Linked DNA regions of Homo sapiens: region 1 is linked to region 2. Evidence: promoter capture Hi-C in human tissues and cell types (Jung and others, 2019). All regions are on one chromosome and are shown on one strand. The core of a region is centred on a gene start or on the middle of the fragment in contact, and the rest is flanking DNA. Distances in the headings are between cores, read along the strand shown.

The links. Contacts are between HindIII fragments. The study calls those that stand out against the background at their distance.
Region 1: a fragment that was not itself captured here is called in contact with the fragment with the promoter of FCHO2 in region 2 in 1 of the 25 tissues and cell types used here (dorsolateral prefrontal cortex).

Annotation. Positions count from the first base shown.
Region 1 is chr5:71,789,550-71,792,871 of GRCh38, forward strand. No RefSeq gene overlaps it. Among named protein-coding and RNA genes, the nearest start is that of CARTPT, 72 kb to the left of the region's middle. The HindIII fragment of the contact is 5,518 bases long and covers 1-3,322 here.
Region 2 is chr5:72,954,260-72,957,554 of GRCh38, forward strand. It overlaps FCHO2 (FCH and mu domain containing endocytic adaptor 2), which reads left to right and starts at 1,782. Exons shown (of 26, transcript NM_138782.3): 1 at 1,782-1,870. The coding sequence starts at 1,838. FCHO2-DT (FCHO2 divergent transcript) reads right to left here and starts at 1,625. Exons shown (of 2, transcript NR_186392.1): 1 at 755-1,625. RefSeq lists a silencer at 1,675-2,374. The HindIII fragment of the contact is 22,512 bases long and covers 1-3,295 here.

The DNA of each region.
Region 1 (3,322 bases), core at 504-3,003, 1.2 Mb before region 2:
AGTGGCTCTTGCCTGTTATCCCAACACTTTGGGAGGCTGAGGTGGGTGGATCACTTGAGGCCAGGGGTTTGAGACCAGCCTGGCCAACATGGCAAAACCCTGTCTCTACTAAAAATACAAAAATTAGCCAGGTGTGGTGGTGCACACCTGTAATCCCAGCTACATGGGAGGCTGAGGCATGAGAATTACTTGAACTTAGGAGGTGGAGGTTGCAGTGAGCTGAGATCACCCCACTGGTCAAAAAAAAAAAAAAAAAGATTACTCCGGATTCCTGGGCAAGATGGCTGAATAGGAGCAGCTCTGGTCTACAGCTCCCAGTGAGGCCAACTGCATTTCCAACTGAGGTACAAAGTTCATCTCATTGGGACTGATTAGACAGTGGGTGCACCCCAAGGATGGCAAGCCAAAGCAGGGTGGGGCATTGCCTCATCCAGGAAGTGTAAGGGGTCAGGGAACTCCCTCCCCTAGCCAAGGGAAGCCGTGTGGGACTGTTCCTTGAGAGACAGTGCTATCTGGCCCAGATAGCACTTTTTCCCACTGTCTTTGCAACCCGCAGACCAGGAGATTCCCTCGGGTGCCTATACCACCAGGACCCCGGGTTTCAAGCACAGAACAGGGCGGCCGTTTGGGCAGACACTGAGCTAGCTGCAGGAATTTCTTTTTTATACCCCAGTGGCACCTGGAACGCCAGCGAGACAGAACCTTTCACTCCTCTGGAAAGGGGGCTGAAGCCAGGGAGCTGAGTGGTCTTGCTTAGTGGATCTCACCCCCATGGAGCCCAAAAAGCTAAGATCCACTGGCTTGAAATTCTCGCTGCCAGCACAGTAGTCTGAAGTTGACCTGGGATGCTTGAGCTTGGTGGAAGGAGGGGCGTCTGCCATTAATGAGGCTTGAGTAGGTGGTTTTCACCTCACAGTGTAAACAAAGCCACCCTGAAATTCGAACTGGGTGGACCCCCTGCAGTGCCACACAGCCGCTGTAGCCAGACTGCTTCTCTAGATTCCTTCTCTCTGTGCAGGGCATCTCTGAAAGAAAGGCAGCAGCCCCAGTCAGGGGCTTATAGATAAAACTCCCAGGGCAGCTGTGGGATCTGCTTCAGCAGACTTAATCCTGCCTGCTGGGTCTGAAGAGAGCAGCGGATCCCCCTGCACAGCGTTCGAGCTCTGCTAAAAGACAGACTGCCTCCTCAAGTGGGTCCCTGACCCCCGTGCTTCCTGAGAGGGAGAAACCTCCCAGCAAAGGTCGACAGACACCTCATACAGGAGAGCTCCAGCTGGCATCTGGCAGATGCCCCTCTGGAATGAAGCTTCCAGAGCAAGGAGGAGGCAGCAATCTTTGCTGTTCTGCAGCCTCCGCTGGTGATACCCAGCCAAACAGAGTCTGGGGTAGACCTCCAGCAAACTCCAGCAGACCTGTAGAAGAAGAGGGTGACTGTTAGAAGGAAAACTAACAAACAAAAAGCAATAGCACCAACATCAACAAAAAGGGCAACCATGCAAAAACCCCACCTGAAGGTCACCAAAATCAAAGACCAAAGATAGATAAATCCATGCAGATGAGGAAAAACCAGTGCAAAAAGGCTGAAAATTCCAAAAACCAGAATGCCTCTTCTCCTCCAAAGGATCACAACTCCTTGCCAGCAAGGGAACAAAAGTGGATGGAGAATGAGTTTGACAAATTGACAGAAGTAGGCTTCAGAAGGTGGATAATAACAAACTCCTCTGAGCTAAAAATTCATGTTCTAATCCAATGCAAGGAAGCTAAGAACCTTGATAAAAGGTTACAGGAACTGCTAACTAGAATAACCAGTTTGAGAAGAACATAAATGACCTGATAAAGCTGAAAAACACAGCATGAGAACTTTGTGAAGCATACACAAGTATCAATAGCCGAATCAATCAAGTAGAAGAAAGGATATCAGAGATTGAAGATCAACTTAATAAAATAAAGCATGAACACAAGATTAGAGAAAAAAAATAAAAGGAACAAACAAAGCCTCCAAGAAATATGGGACTATGTGAACAGACCAAACTTATGTTTAATTGGTATAACTGAAAGTGACAAGGAGAATGGAACCAAGCTGAAAAACACACTTCAGGATATTATCCAGGAGAACTTCCCCAACCTAGCAAGACAGGCCAACATTCAAATTCAGGAAATACAGAGAACATCACAAAGATACTCCTTGAGAAGAGTAACCCCAAGACACATAATCGTCAGATTCACCAAAGTTGAAATGAAGGAAAAAATGTTAAGGGCAACCAGAGAAAAAGGTCAGGTTACCCACAAAGGGAAGCCCATCAGACTAACAGCAGATCTCTCTGCAGAAACCCTACAAGCCAGAAGAGAGTGGGGGCCAATATTCAACATTCTTAAAGAAAAGAATTTTCAACCCAGAATTTCTTATCCAGCCAAGCTAAGCTTCTTAAGTGAAGGAGAAAGAAAATCCTTTACAGACAAACAAATGCTCAGGGATTTTGTCACCACCAGGCCTGCCTTACAAGAGCTCCTAAAGGAAGCACTAAATATGGAAAGGAAAAACTGGTACCAGTAACTGCAAAAATATACCAAATTGTAAAGATCATTGACACTATGAAGAAACCGCATAAACTAATGGGCAAAATAACCAGCTAGCATCATAATGACAGGATCAAATTCACACATAACAATATTAACATTAAATGTAAATGGGCTAAATGCCCCAATTAAAAGATAAAGACTGGCAAATTGGATAGAGTCAAGACCCATCAATGTGCTGTATTCAGGAGACCCATCTCACATGCAAACACACACGTAGGCTCAAAATAAAGGGATGGAGGAAGATTTACCAAGCATATGGAAAGCAAAAAAAAAAAAAAAAAAAAAAAAAAAAAGAAAACAAACAAACAAAAAAACCAGGGGTTGCAATCCTAGTCTCTGATAAAACAGACTTTAAACCAACAAAGACCAAAAAAGACAAAGGACATTGCATAATAGTAAAGTGATCAATGCAACAAGAAGAGCTAAGTATCCTAAAAATATATGCACCCAATACAGGAGCATCCAGATTCATAAAGCAAGTTTTTTTTTTAATTTTATTATTATTATACTTTAAGTTTTAGGGTACATGTGCACAACGTGCAGGTTTGTTACATATGTATACATGTGCCATGTTGGTGTGCTGCACCCATTAACTCATCATTTAGCATTAGGTATATCTCCTAATGCTATCCCTCCCCCCTACCACCACCCCACAACAGTCCCCAGTGTGTGATGTTCCCCTCCCTGTGTCCAAGTGTTCTCATTGTTCAATTCCCACCTGTGAGTGAGAACATGTGGTGTT
Region 2 (3,295 bases), core at 532-3,031:
CTCAAATTCTGACTCCAAAGCAGTCTCTGAAATGGGCAGCCATGCTATGTACAAATTTTCACTGCTTTTGGAGTTCACCGTTTGTTTTGAGGACAGAAGACAAAAGATAGGAAGAAGAGTTTTCCTGGGGCCTGAATAGTGTTCTTCACTGGGAGAGGGAATTTATGGTTATGAGCCAGTGTTCAGTATCAGATCACAAGCGGCAGGGGCACCTATTTTTTTTTAAATTAATGTGTGTGTGTGATATGTAAGTTCCTTTAAAGCATGGAGTCCAGGATAGAAGTCTCTCTTGCCCAGGTCTAAGGGTGCGGGGGGAAGGGGGGGGGCGCGGCGGTGGGAGGGAGTACTTTAGTGATACTAGGAATTTAATGCCAAATGTATTTGCTGTGTGACCTAGATGGCTGAATTTTTTAAAAAGTTCTTCAGCATCGAGAAAAATCCAGTTAGACCGATAGCTTAGAGAGCTGTAGCTTATTTCTAAATTTGACTTTCCCTAAAACTAAGTGTAAATGTCAGTGATATGAGGACTTTTTAAAGAAACAAAATAAAGAAACAAGATACACAAAAATAGAGCAACTATGGCCAATCTTGTTTCATCCCTTTTCATCTATGACCTTACTCATACCCCTATCCATAATAAATGACTTTCAGCAAATCCTAGATGTTCTGCATCCTATATCTTTCTAACAGATATTCTTAAAAAGTATGACCACAATACCATTATCCAATTATTCCTTGTTCAACAAGCACTTACAATTTCATCCATGTGAAAGGCACCTCATGATTTTTACTTGAGGATGAAGATAATTTCTCATGAATTCTCATTGTTTTAAGTCACCTGAAGAGGTGTGATATGCTACAATAAATCTATTTGTAGGGCTTGGCTTCAAGAACTGAAGATTCTGGACCTAGCTGATCTGGTGACAGTGAACTTGAGACCTCTAATAGCGTTTAACTATTTTTTTTTAACTTTTGGAAAGCAAGGTGTAGGAAGGGGATTTAGTTTTTCCATTAGGTCGTGGCATGTTAAGACTTGTTTCTTTTTCCAAAATGTTCAAGTTGCTGAAGAGAACTATGGACTATGGGTCAGGAAGTCCGTCGGTTTCGGGTCACATTCCGCTCCCGCAGGCCTGCGGGCCGCCCCAGCTGGTTTGTTCCCGGCGTGTTAGAGGTCAGAGGCCGAGGCCGCACTCAGTGCCTGGGTCTCGCGCAGCTCCAGGGCTCTCAGGCGACACTGGGCGTTTCCTTTCCGGCTTCGGAAAGTTTTGTTTTGGTTCAAGGAAAGGCGCCCTGTTGACCAAAGGCTTCTCAGTCTCCTCCGGGTGGCCAGCGGCCAAGTTTCCTCCAGCCCAGCGAGTCCAGACTATAGTCCGTTCGAGATCCTCGAAGGCCGGGGAAGCGAGTCTTGTGAGGAGAGAAAGCGAGTGGGCAGCCAGCCTGCCGACTCCACTGCCGCTGGCTGGCCCTTCTCTTCCCTCTGTCCCTGGGCCAGTGCCCGTCGCACCACAAACAGTGCGAGCAGTCTCCCCGGTGACTCCTCAAGGACCCAGTTCTCCACCATTCCTAAGAGAACACTCAACCCAGCCGCGCCCGGGATGCAGAGAGATCTACCAACACCCGAGAATGGGGACAGGGCGCATGCGCACACCGTGGCCGTGGCGTCTAAGTGCTCGCCCAGCTGCGGCAGCCGCTAGGTGGCGCATGCGCCCTGGAAGGTGCGGGCCGGTCTCTGGGAAGAAGGCGGCGGCGGCGAAAGGCGGGGGTGCTGTGGGGGCCGGGCCGTGTTTACACAGCGGCGGGCGGGCGCGGACGCGGAACCCGGCGCGGCGGCGGCACGATGGTCATGGCGTATTTCGTCGAGAATTTTTGGGTAAGCTTAGGATGTTGGAAGTCGTGTGTTTCGAAGTCCAAGGCTTTTGGCGCCTGAGCTTGGCCTGCGTGCGCTTCGGGCGGCGGCGGCGGCCCCTCCGGCAGGGCGAGCGTCCTCCTGCCGCGTCCCGCCTGGGTGAGGTCCGGCGGGCGACCGGTCGCCAGCCTATAGGGACTCCCGGGCTCGCAGCCCTATGGGGACGGGGGCTGTCACCGCGGCCCGGGGGCCCGCAGCGGGGCCGCCGGCCACCGGGGCTGGGACAAAGCGCCGGATGGGGCGGGAGACGGGACCCAGCCCCACCGGAGGCTCCCGGTGCCGCGCTCCGCGCGGGGCGTGCGCGGCAGCTCGGACGCGAAGGACGGGCCCGCGGCACAGCCGCCTCCCGCTGCGCGCTGGCTGGGAGCGCCGGGCGGTGGGGTTTTGCCTCCTGCCCTCACCGCGGGCCCCCCATCTGAGCGATCCCTTTTACCTCTGACGGTTTCCACACCAAATCCAGTGCGGGGTTGGGCTGGACTAGCACTTCCTCTCAGCCTCGCAGCTCGGCTCGTGGGTTTGCGCCCAGGACTTTGCCTCTGGGCCTGTTCACAAAGCGTTTAAAAGTTGGATTTAATGTAACTGGACTCCTTGGGCTTAAATGCATGGAGACCTCCCCCTACTCTGTGCTCCTTCCCCTTCCTCATTCTTTCCACCCCTTGTCTTAGCTCAGTATTAGATTCTTCTTTGAGAATTTCTCCGGCTCCCGGTGGAGTATTTTTCTGCAGTTATTGTTTTTTTTTTTGTAATGGGAAGTACAGTTCAGCCATGTACAGGAAAGGAACGTGTTTACTCAGGTATCTTTCGTGAATCCCATTTTATGCCCTGACAGTTGCAAGTACTGCAGGTCCATTTTCGTTGAGATTTAGACATATTTAAAGGGGTAATCTTTTAGCTAGTAAGGAATGTATGTTAAATTCTTAATTCTAAGTGCCTCAAGCATGGTCTTGGTTAGTAATCAGATCAGTTCATAGTTATTTATTTGTCTTGAATGTACCTTGTTTTCCACAAAGAACGTATATACTAGACCTTAGGTGTTTTGTTTTTTAAACAGCTTTATTGAGTTCACATTTCCGTACCAATACACTCATTTAAAGTGTAGTACAATTCAGAGGTTTTTTCATATGTTCATAGAGTTGTGTAAACATCACCATATCAGTTTTACAACAATTTCGTTATCCCAGAAAGAATCCCTAGACCCATTAGCAGTCACTCCCCATTTTCCCCCTGCCCCAGGCCTAGGCAACTAATGTATTTTCTGCCTCTCTGCATTTGTCTAGTCTGGACATATCCTATAAATGGGGCCATGGTGACCAGTTTCTTTCACTTAGCATAATGTTCTCAAAGTTTATCCATGATGTAGCATGTATCACTACTAATTCCTTTTTATGG